Regions from separate parts of the Homo sapiens genome. Here regions 1 and 2 are each linked to region 3. Evidence: promoter capture Hi-C in 16 types of primary human blood cells and fetal thymus (Javierre and others, 2016). All regions are on one chromosome and are shown on one strand. Each heading gives the region's core, a stretch centred on a gene start or on the middle of the fragment in contact. The rest is flanking DNA. Distances are from core to core; before and after follow the strand shown. Region 1 overlaps PLUT (PDX1 associated lncRNA, upregulator of transcription). Region 2 overlaps PLUT (PDX1 associated lncRNA, upregulator of transcription). Region 3 holds the start of GTF3A (general transcription factor IIIA).

Evidence for each region. Contacts are between HindIII fragments. The CHiCAGO score rates a contact against its expected background, and 5 or more counts as called.
Region 1: a contact is called between a fragment that was not itself captured here and the fragment with the promoter of GTF3A in region 3, in 1 of 17 cell types (megakaryocytes). The highest score is 5.1, in megakaryocytes.
Region 2: a contact is called between a fragment that was not itself captured here and the fragment with the promoter of GTF3A in region 3, in 1 of 17 cell types (total B cells). The highest score is 6.6, in total B cells.

What each region holds. Positions count from the first base shown.
Region 1 is chr13:27,838,979-27,842,542 of GRCh38, forward strand. The region is part of intron 2 of PLUT (PDX1 associated lncRNA, upregulator of transcription); the gene reads right to left. Among named protein-coding and RNA genes, the nearest start is that of GSX1, 48 kb to the left of the region's middle. The HindIII fragment of the contact is 7,230 bases long and covers 1-3,564 here.
Region 2 is chr13:27,816,992-27,820,642 of GRCh38, forward strand. PLUT (PDX1 associated lncRNA, upregulator of transcription) reads right to left here. Exons shown (of 5, transcript NR_047484.2): 5 at 2,101-3,476. Among named protein-coding and RNA genes, the nearest start is that of GSX1, 26 kb to the left of the region's middle. The HindIII fragment of the contact is 8,107 bases long and covers 1-3,651 here.
Region 3 is chr13:27,423,369-27,426,965 of GRCh38, forward strand. It overlaps GTF3A (general transcription factor IIIA), which reads left to right and starts at 1,251. Exons shown (of 9, transcript NM_002097.3): 1 at 1,251-1,570. The coding sequence starts at 1,370. RefSeq lists silencers at 1,076-1,345, 1,356-1,415, 1,516-1,595 and enhancers at 1,686-1,755, 2,706-2,925. The HindIII fragment of the contact is 2,756 bases long and covers 1-1,535 here.

The sequences.
Region 1 (3,564 bases), core at 676-3,175, 420 kb after region 3:
CCTCCCATCTTGGCCTCCCAAGGTGCTGGGATTACAGTGTGAGCTACTGTGCTCAGCCTACCTTTCTCCTTCTCTTACAAGATTATTTCAGCTATTCTAGATCCTGAGCCTTTCCATATTCATTTTAGCATAAGTTTGTCTATGTCTACAAAAAACCTTGCTAGGTTGCTATAGCATTTTGATTTGCTTCCATCCAACATCCAAAGTATGATTTGGTCAAGAAAGGCTGGGTGCAGTGGCTCACGCCTGTAATCCCAGCACTTTGAGAGGCCGAGGCAGGCGGATCACAAGGTCAGGAGATCGAGACCATCCTGGATAACACGGTGAAACCCCGTCTCTACTAAAAATACAAAAAAATGAGCCGGGTGTGGTGGAGGGCGCCTGTAGTCCCAGCTACTTGGGAGGCTGAGGCAGGAGAATGGCATGAACCCGGGAGGCGGAGCTTGCAGTGAGCCGAGATTGCGCCACTGCACTCCCGCCTGGGTGACAGAGTGAGACTCCTCAAAAATAAAATAAAATAAAATAAAATAAAATAAAATAAAATAAAATAAAATAAAATAAAAAAGTATGATTTGGTCAAGAACATCTACAGGGTATCCTCATTTGACCATGACATATTCAAGGTAGAAAATCCATCTCATTTATCTTTGTAACTGCCAAGCACCCAGCACGATGACATATAATAATAGGTGCTCAATAAATATTTGTTGGGTGAGTGCACAAATGGGTGCCCCAAAATACACTTTCATGCAAAAACAGACAATTTTGCAGTAAACAGACTCCAGCCTTTTATTTTGTTTGCTCTCAGCTCCTTTATACTTTAAGCTCATCTCACTCATTTCTACTAGGTTTCCTTCCGAAAACCCACAGCGGGCCTAGACCATTTTGGTCAAATTTGAGCTGATTGCATCACTTCCATGGACAAAATCTTAGAAAACTACTTATTCTATATACTGAATAAGATTCACATCCCTCTATACTCTTCCCATACACACAGAGAGACAACCTGTGTCATCAGCCAGGAAGGAAATATTTGCTGAGGTCTTAGCCTGTACTAGGGACTGTCAACAATGAAAAGAATGGTAAAATATTATTTCTGCCCTGAAAGAGTTTGAAATGTGAGTTTGTTATTTGAGGACTCTATGACGCATATTCTGTTCATTATATAATTGCTCACCTTTTCACTTCTCTTCAGCTGAGTCATGAATCTTCTTCGTTTCTGTTCCAGTGCTTTAGCTGCAGGGGGCAGTTTCTGGCCTGTGCACTATAGGCCACGGCTGATGCCACGTCATCCCCCAGGATTTTGGGAGAAAAGCCCTCGACTTCTCTCCAACTCTCTCCTTTTTCTCTAGGATGAGGCCAAAATACACATATTTGTTTTCACCTCTTATCCAAGTATATTGAAAGGATTAATGAGAGTGCTTTAAAGCCCTTTGATAAGGCATGGTATATTGCCAAGGTAATCAACGATTATGTTTTCTTATATGAAAGTTAAAATAAGCCACAGGAAGGAGTCTAGCCTTCCACGTTTACCGGCGTTTATTTTTGAACGCTGTTTTCTTTGCCATTCACCATTAGGAAAACAGAGTCTGAGTACTGTGACTTTAAGGGCCTATAAACCTATAAATCTTCCTCCCAGGTCAGGGTAAATAATTCTCCTTTCTACCATAATTGGGGAAGTCAGAAGTGTGCTCAGTGTGTGGCTTGAAAGATTCTTTGCCAAAATTCTACCCCAGTGGACAAGCCTGGGCTTTCATGAGGGGATCTCAACTTTCTCAGCCTCTTGGCAGCTGGCAATGCCGCCTTGAAATGCCTTCCTTTGCTTCCATGACATCCCTGGGGACCCCTTCTCCATATCCTTCAGGGGACCTTCCTCCGCAGCCCAGCCTCTGAATGCTGGTGGCCCCCAGTGCTCGGTCCAGGTCCTCTCCTTCCTCACCCTTCACTCTTCTTGGGTAAGCTCACATGCTCTCATAGCTGTAGAGACCTTTTAGAAGGGGCACATTCTCCTTGTTTCTATGTGGAAACCCTCTCTAGAATATTCCCTCAGCCCCTGGCCTCTTCATTTCACTTACTGGTGGTCTTTAGAGGAAGAATTGGGCAGGCTCCTCTGGGCCCCTCACTCTGCCTCAGAAGTCCATCCACCTACCTGCCCTCTGCCTTCTGCTGTCTGCCCTGGATGAGGGTGAAAGGAAAAGGCTGACTATTGTCCATCTGGGCCAGTGACCGGATGTGCAAGGCCACCTAATTTTGAGGGAAGTATTAACAGGCCCATCTGGACACAAATCTAGGGCCACAGCCTCTGATTGGCTTCATCAGCACGAACGCTGACATTTAATCTCCATCTGCCCACAGCTAGGTTTACCTCTCAGTTGGTTCTACGCTCAGTGGGGATGAAGGGTGCTCTGTTGACCCTCTCCCTTTCCCCCACCCCACACTATCTAGTTATCAGACAAAATGGACTTTGAGAAAAAAAATTACCAAAGAAGGATCTTTTATAAGGATAAAGGCATTAATATACTAAGAAGACAAAGAATCCTATGAGGGTGTGTGTCTTGTAACAGAGCTTAAATATCCCTGAGGAAAAAATTGACAGAAATAATCCACAATCATAGATGAATATGAATATGAATATCTTAGGATAGGGCTGCTAGAAAAAAATCAAGAAAAAGATAGATGGACTGAACAACACTATTAACCACTTTTATATAATTGCTATTTATAGAATCTATATCTACCAGTTACAACTGCAGAATACACATTCTCTTCAAGCACATGTGGTTTGTTGACCAAAATAGACCATATGCTGGACCATAAAACAAGGTTCAATAAATTGAAGAGGATTTATATTTTATAGAGCCTATTCTCTGATTAAAACAGAATTACATAGAAATTAAAAACAATAAGATAAGTAGACACCAAATATTTGGAAATGAAACAATTCACTTCTAGAGAATCAATAGGTCAAAGAAGAAATCATGACGGCAATTAGAAAATACTTGGAACTAAATGATAATGAAAAAGGTAAAAATTTGTGGAATGTAAGCAAACAGTGGTTAGAGAGAAAGTTATACCTTTAAGTGCTTATACTGGGTCAGGTGGTGGGAGGGTGTACAAAAACAGAGACTTAAGAGTCCACAATAAGAAACTAGAAAAAGAAGAGCAAAGTGAGCCCAAAGTAACTAGAAGAAAGGGAATAATAAAGATAAGAGCAGAAAAAGAACACAGAACTGAGAAAATTAGCAAAGAGAATGAAGTTTGACAAGAGTGCCAAGACAATTTAATGAGAAAAATGTCTTTTCAATTAGCTGTGCTGGGACAACTGGATATCCACATGCAAGAGAAAGAAGCTGAGCCACTGCCTCACACCATATACAAAACATAAGCCAAAATGGAGCAGTGTCTTCAAGGTAAATCCATAAAATGCCTAAAAGAAAATATAGGAGTAAATCCTTGGGTCCTTAGGCAATGGCTTCTTAGATATGACACAAAAGTGACAAAAGAAAAAATAGATATATTGGAATTCATCAAAGTTTTAAACTTTTGTGCTTCAAAGGATACCAT
Region 2 (3,651 bases), core at 64-2,563, 390 kb after region 3:
AGAGACTATAGTGAACCGTGATAGTGTGACTGCACTCCAGTCTGGGCAACAGAGCGAGACCGTGTCTCAAAAAAGAAAAAAAAAAAGACAGCTTTGTCCACAATTTAAAAAACACCCCCCAGGCCAGCCCATGGAGCTGGAGCAAACATTTCAACCAGCTGGGCCAGGGACAGTCCAGTGCCACAATAATAGGTATTCCCTCCTGTGGGAGGGGAGTATCCTAGCTGTGACTTAGCAGGGACCAATGCTCGGCTTTATTGGCCATGGTGGGTGGGATGGCAGGGAGAACTCTGAGAGGAAAGTTGGTAATATTGACAGGAGGGGCAGACAGCTGGGTGGAGAGGGCCGGGGACTGCTCTGTGAGATCAGAGCAGACTTCACCTTCATCTCTCCAGAAGAGGGACCCTCTCACAGAAGCAAGGGGTTGGGATGGAGCAGCAGGAGGCTGGAGTTAGGAAACCACCACTCATTCAGGCATAGAGCATTTGTTCTGAGTGTTCTGTTAGGCAGCTATTCCCCAAGATGCTGGAGAGTCAGATCTGAATAAGATACTGAGAGGGAGACTTCAGGAGACTCCCAGCCTGGAGCAGACAGACAGGTCAAAAGGCCTATGTGATACCCCTAGAACAAAGGCATTCACACCTGGGCCACACAGCCACTGAACCCCAAGGAAGCCGGACAAAGAGGATCGGGGGAAACGTCATGCTAAAAGGAGAGATGAGACGAAAGAAGAGAGAGGAGAGGCTTACAGGGATACAGATACTTTCCAGCATTGCTTTTCTCAGGAGATCTGGAAGGGATCTGTGCACTTTACATTGTTCATTCCATCAACAAGTATTTACTAAACACATAGCATACTCCAGGAACCACGCTAAGCACCAGACAGTATAGTTCTCAGTTCACAGAAAGGAAGAAGCAGCCCTGCACCCTGGCCTCCCAGTGCAGCGATTGCCCAGTATCTCCTGAGGCTTCCACTGTGAAGCCAGTCCTGTCTGAAAAGCTATGGAGCATTTTATTTATATATTTATTTATTTATTTATTTATTTATTTATTTATTTATTTTTGAGACAGAGTCTCACTCTGTTGTCCAGGCTGGAGTGCAATGGTGCAATCTCAGCTCACTGCAACCTCCACCTCCCAGGCTCAAACAATTCTCTTGCCTCAGCCTCCTGAGTCACTGGGATTACAGGCACCTGCCACTATGCCTGGCTTTTTTTTTTTTTTTTTTTTTTTGTATTTTTAATAGAGACAGGGTTTCACCATGTTGGCCAGGCTGGTTTTGAACTCCCGACCTCGAGTAATCCACCTGCCTTGGCCTCTCAAAACTCTGGGATTTCAGGTGTGACCCACCATGCCCAGCAGCTATGGAACACTTAAATAACACAGAGAAAATCACATTACTGCTATCAAGGGGTTTGTAAGCCACAGAGCTTAAGAAATCTTAGAAAAGAAAGGTGGCATGTTAAGGCCCTGGGGAGACCACTGTGGCCCCCAAGGTCACTGTTTATCTGTGATTGCTCTTGCAGGAAAGTTCTCAAGAAACTTGAGTCAACACTTGCTTGTGTTGGTCATGACTCTTTGGGTTACAAGTGGCAGAAGACCAATACAGACTTAAGCATAAAAACGAATTTAACGACTTCAGGCATAGCTGTATCCAGCTGCTCCAATGATGATGTCAGACACTGATATCTCTTAGCTTGTTTTTCTCTGAGTTGTTTCACTGTCAGGCTCTGGGGATGCAGTAACCAGTAAACAGAGTACCCTGGGGGTACATTGAACAAGACAAAAAAAAAAATGCGTGGTCCTCATGGAGCTTGTAATTAGGTTCCTACAACTGGTAGTAAAGGAAGACCACCAGGCTTTCTGGGATTACTTCTTATTAGCTTAACAACTCTAACATGAGGAAAAACTAGCCCCAGTAAAAATGTACTTTATCGGTTCTGCTTTGTTACATGTTACCCCCAAGCTGAACAAAGTGGCAGAGAGGAGCAGTACCTCATTGAGCCTGACCCCAGGTCACCAACCCCTCTGGGATCCAGGAGACCGAGATTGGGCAGGGGTGGGTCCTCAAGTGAAAATTGATGCGATATGGCCAGATATCACAGATATCACTTATTTTATTTATTTATTTATTTTTGAGACAGAGTTTCACTCTTGTTGCCCAGGCTGGAGTGCAATGGCGTGATCTCTGCTCACCACAATTTCTGCCTCGCAGGTTCAAGCGATTCTTCTGCCTCAGCCTCCTGAATAGCTGGGATTACAGGCATCTGCCACCATGCCCAGCTAATTTTGTCTTTTTAGTAGACATGGGATTTCTCCATGTTGGTCAGGCTGGTCTCGAACTCCTGACCTCAGGTGATCCGCCTGCCTTGGCCTCCCAAAGTACTGGGATTACAGGCATGAGCCATTGCACTCAGCCCAGATATCACTTTAAAAAGGGAAAATAACAGACACAATGTCTGGCATAAACCTAGACTGGAAAAAGGCAAAGCTGTATGGTCAACATGAAACATAGGAGAAGGTACTAACAGTCCCAGGGAAGCAGGGAGGGAGGCCACAGGGGAGAAGTCCAGGGACATGAGTTCGCTGTTTCCCAAGGGAAACCAGTGCCTTCAGGCCACTCTGTATGGGAGATCCTGTAGCAGACTCTGGAACTGCAACCAAAGCATGAGTGGGAAGTCAGGCAAATTCAGGTTGATAATTGATTGGTTTCCTTGGGCAAGTACCTTACATCTCCCAGCCAGGTGCTCAGCCATGAAAGCGGGTTAATCGTAGCCATTTCACAGGTTGTTGTAAAAGTTAAATTAGAAAACCTGCCTAAACAAATGCCTGGCCAGGGTCGATGTTCAAAGGTAAGAAGAGTGAGGGGCCGGCAGGGCATCCAGTCCGGCCCCAAGCAGCTTGGAGGTGGCAGGAAAACTGTGTTTGTACATTTCCCCTTATGAACTTCTATCCCAGGATGGAGACAACCTCTTTGAAGAGCAGTGCCTAGAATGGCCTCCCAGGACCACATCTCCATCACAGCTGGAATCTCATCCGTCATCTCTGCAGCAGGGTCAGAAACTGGCTGCGGCAAGCAAGGTTCATTTCACCCTCTTCCTCAGCAAGAGAAGCCCCAGCTGCTTCTTTTCTGGCATTTCCCTGTGCCTACTGGTTGGGATGGCCAGCAGCAGAGTATTTGGCCTCCGACCACCTAGAAAAAGCCATGCCTTGGTTAAGAAGTGCTGCATTTGAGAATATGGACCTTTGTGGTTCCCCGTATCCCTGGGAACCTCCACATTCAGAGAGGCTAAAAGCCCACACCGACCCGAGCCAACAGAATGGGGAGGAAGCAGGTGCAGGGAGTCAGCTTCATCTTCCCCTTCTCTTGATGATGCTCTTCAGCCATTAGGGTTTCAAAAGAGTGGGCGTGAGCAAGCGAGAAAAGCCCCTTCAATTCTGGGAAACTTAAAGACAGTTTCTTCCAGCAGGAACACCTGGAGAGGCAAAAAAAAAAGCAAAAAACAAAACAAAACAAAACAAACAAACAAAAAAAGTTGTGTTGGAACCCGTGGAGAGAAGGAACTGTCCGTTTCCAAACTCTGCTTCGGCCCCTCTCCCCTCCCACCCACGGCCCCAGGCAGAGAGGGCCGGAAAGGCAGCCCATTCCTG
Region 3 (3,597 bases), core at 1-2,500:
GAACTGGCGCAAGAGAAACCATTTTAGAATTCCGGAGTTGTGGGAGGGATGAGTGTAGAATTCTCCCATCCATGGACAGGGGCTAGAGTGGCAAATGAAGAAAGCAACAGGTGGACCCAAGGCATAGACACTCTCACAGCCCCGTTATCTTGAGACGGAGGATGACACAGGCGTTATCAACTTTCCCACTTTCAAGATGAGCAGACTGAGGCAAAGGAGTGTTTATGAACTGGAATACTCAGTTCATAAGCACTGATGTTAAGCCCTGGCTTGTTTCCAGAACTGCACTGCTGTGCAGGGACCTGTTCATCACATTCCGACAAGGGCTTAATGATTCGGAATAATGCAGGATGTGAAAAATATGGATCTGGCGAACATCCCCCAAGTCATCCTGCCAGTTATCTGTATCCAAGGACATTTTTTAGGCATGTGGTCCTCATAAACTAAGATACTCATATTCATTCAGGCCTCTCAAAAGTGCTTCTCAGGTTTTGATATGCACTGAATCACCTGGAGATTTGTTTCAAGTAGGTCATCAAGGCTCTAGGGCAGTGTTCCCAAACTTTTCCTTTTTTTTTTTTTTTTTTTCCAACCACCTGGTCAGTTTGCCGGGGTGGGGAAGGGTAGGATGGGGAGACATCTGTATTTATTCTTTTAGAGCTCGGGGTCTCACTCTGGGCTCAAGCGATTCGCCCGCGTACCTGGGACTACAGGTGCGCACTACTGTGCCAGGATAGTGGTTCCCAAACTTTTCTGCGCATTGAAATCACCTAGGAAGTTTCCAAAAATACTGATGCCTGTTTCCTACCCCCAGAAATTGTGATTTAAGTGGTCCAAGTATCCTCTAGGCTTCGGGATTTTGTAAAGCTCTCCACGTGAATCTGAGCTTAGGAACCTCTGAACTGGGGCTTGCAGCAGAAGCACGTAAAGCACGCAAAGAAACGAAACCACACAGGTCACACTAGTAATGTGGCAACAGGCTAACTTAAATTATGTAAGGCTAGTGCTTTCCAGAGTGTACTGGAGGACGGGAAACAAGCCCCATTTAAGCAGTGCCTCGGGATTTGAGTTGCCTGTGAAACGCAGCAGCCTTCTGCCGAGGACGCAGAAACCCCCGCCTCTCATCCAGGGCTGACAGGGCACGGGCCGCGAGCCGCGGCGGGGCCTCCTGGCGCATGCGCGATCTCCCGGAGCATGCGCAGCAGCGGCGCCGACGCGGGGCGGTGCCTGGTGACCGCGCGCGCTCCCGGAAGTGTGCCGGCGTCGCGCGAAGGTTCAGCAGGGAGCCGTGGGCCGGGCGCGCCGGTTCCCGGCACGTGTCTCGGCACGTGGCAGCGCGCCTGGCCCTGGGCTTGGAGGCGCCGGCGCCCTGGATCCGCCGGCCGTGGTCGCCGAGTCGGTGTCGTCCTTGACCATCGCCGACGCGTTCATTGCAGCCGGCGAGAGCTCAGCTCCGACCCCGCCGCGCCCCGCGCTTCCCAGGAGGTTCATCTGCTCCTTCCCTGACTGCAGCGCCAATTACAGCAAAGCCTGGAAGCTTGACGCGCACCTGTGCAAGCACACGGGGGAGGTGAGGGGGGCGAGGCTGCCAACCCTGGGCCTAGGGATGGCGCGTGGCCCCGGGGTAGCCACTGCAGTCGTGGCCAGGGCCGCAGGCCCCGCTGTGCAGCGCGTTCAGCTTTGACATCCAGGACTTGGGGAAGGAGCTGAGGAAGTAGACAGGAAGTTGTAGGACCTTCGTTCTGCGACCTTGATATCCATGGCAGGGGCTCGGGATTTACTAAGCAGTCATTGATCGTGAGTCTCGGCCAGCCAAGTGCCTCCCGTAATCTGCAAATAAGTGTGAGGTTTGAGGGGGCCCACCGCTACTAGACACCTGCCAAACACTGGCCCCTGGAGCTGGTACAGAAGATGGGTTACATGTACCAGGGGTCGTGAAAGCAGCATGTGCTCATTTCTTCGTAACTCCACACTGGAGAGAGCAGTGAGCAAAACAGGCAAACCCAAGGTTTCTGCTGCCATGGACCTTTGTTCCTGGGTCGAGCCGACCACAGGATAGGTGGGAATGACATGCAGTGTTGTGGTCAGGAAAGGCCTCTCTGTGTGAGCCGTGTAAGAAGGAAGGATCTAGCCATGCAGACATTTGTGCTAGGTAGAGAGAACACAAAGGGAGCCTGTGACCCTTGGGGTGGGAGGCAGGTGGGTGTGTTTGGGTGCGGAGATCACCATATGAGGTCTGAGAAGTAGGCCCATTAGGAGTTTGGATTTTATTTTGAGGGCAGGAGAATGTCAGATACCATGATATGACGTGGCAGCCCATGTCACACACAAGTGAGGAAAACGAGGGTCATGGAGGTCAAGGAATCTGCCCAGCTTCCCAGTTTTTGGCAGAGCTAGGCTTCACACTGCCTCAGCTTAAAGCCCTTAATTTCTTAAACCACTGGGCTGCAGTCCATACCTTTGCCCCTTGCACCTCCTCTAATTTATGGGCCACCTTCTCCAGGTGTCCTCCGGGGCCTCATTCCTTAACCTCTCCAGCACTGGAAGGCCGACCGCTTCTTCCTTGAGACCTTCTCTGGTTCTTTTCCTCTTCCTCGTCTGCCCTTTTCGTTGGATCCTCTTCTGCCCTCTGCATGTTCCACCCCGCCCAGCTCCCTCTTGCGGTCTTACATAGCCACCGGCATGACTCATAACATCCTTTATGCTTTGCCCCTCTGCCCTTCCTCTTGCCCGTTCTAGCCTCTAAATTCTGGGCTCTGTATTACCAGTAGATCCACGTAAGAGCTTGCCTTTCCTTTTAGACCGGTGTGCTGTATTTTGGATACTGGCGCTACCAGTTTCCTTAATACAGGTTGAAAAACTTGGAGTCATCTTTGTTGTCCCAGATCTCTCATGCAGATTAATTTGACAAATGTTTATTGAGCCTACTCCACGCCTGCCGCTGTGCAAGGTTCTGTGGCTCCGCCCCTGGTGGTATGTAGCTCACTGTGTTCCTGTTTGCTTGTTTTGCTCCTAGTACTCTCATGGAGGCCTCGGTGCCTCCCTCCTGGACGCCTTGGTAGTATGCTTTTCATAGTTTGATGCACCAAACTGGTTATTTGGTTATTTGGGGTGTGTGTTTGGCTTTTACTATAGGTTCAAAATGAGTCACCCCCTCCCAACTCCTGGGTTACAAAAGGTGGTTGCATTTAGGGTGTTGAGCTGTTTTCTTTGCTTCGCCCTGGCACCTGTGAGCTTTTTCAGGTGTGACACACTTTCCTATAGCTGTGCTTGGCATTATCCTAGCACAGACCCTGGGCTTGTCTGGGATGAGACAGGCCTCCCTCGTTCCTCTGCCCTAGGCTTGCTTTTTTACATGTTAAATCATGCGGTGGTGGGGATCCATGCAGACAAGCCATGCTAACAGCCAGGGCGTCTTTAAGAGGGGGTTGCTGTGAAAGCCTGCTGCCGGGTTGGGAGCAGGTTAAAAATGCTATGCCTGCTTATTTTAAATGCTGTTCATGGAACAAAAATCTGTGTAGTGACTTTGTGAGAAGTTGTGATGTTTATGTTGTGTAACTTTGTGCAGGAACACTGCGTCTTGCAGTGGGTGCACAG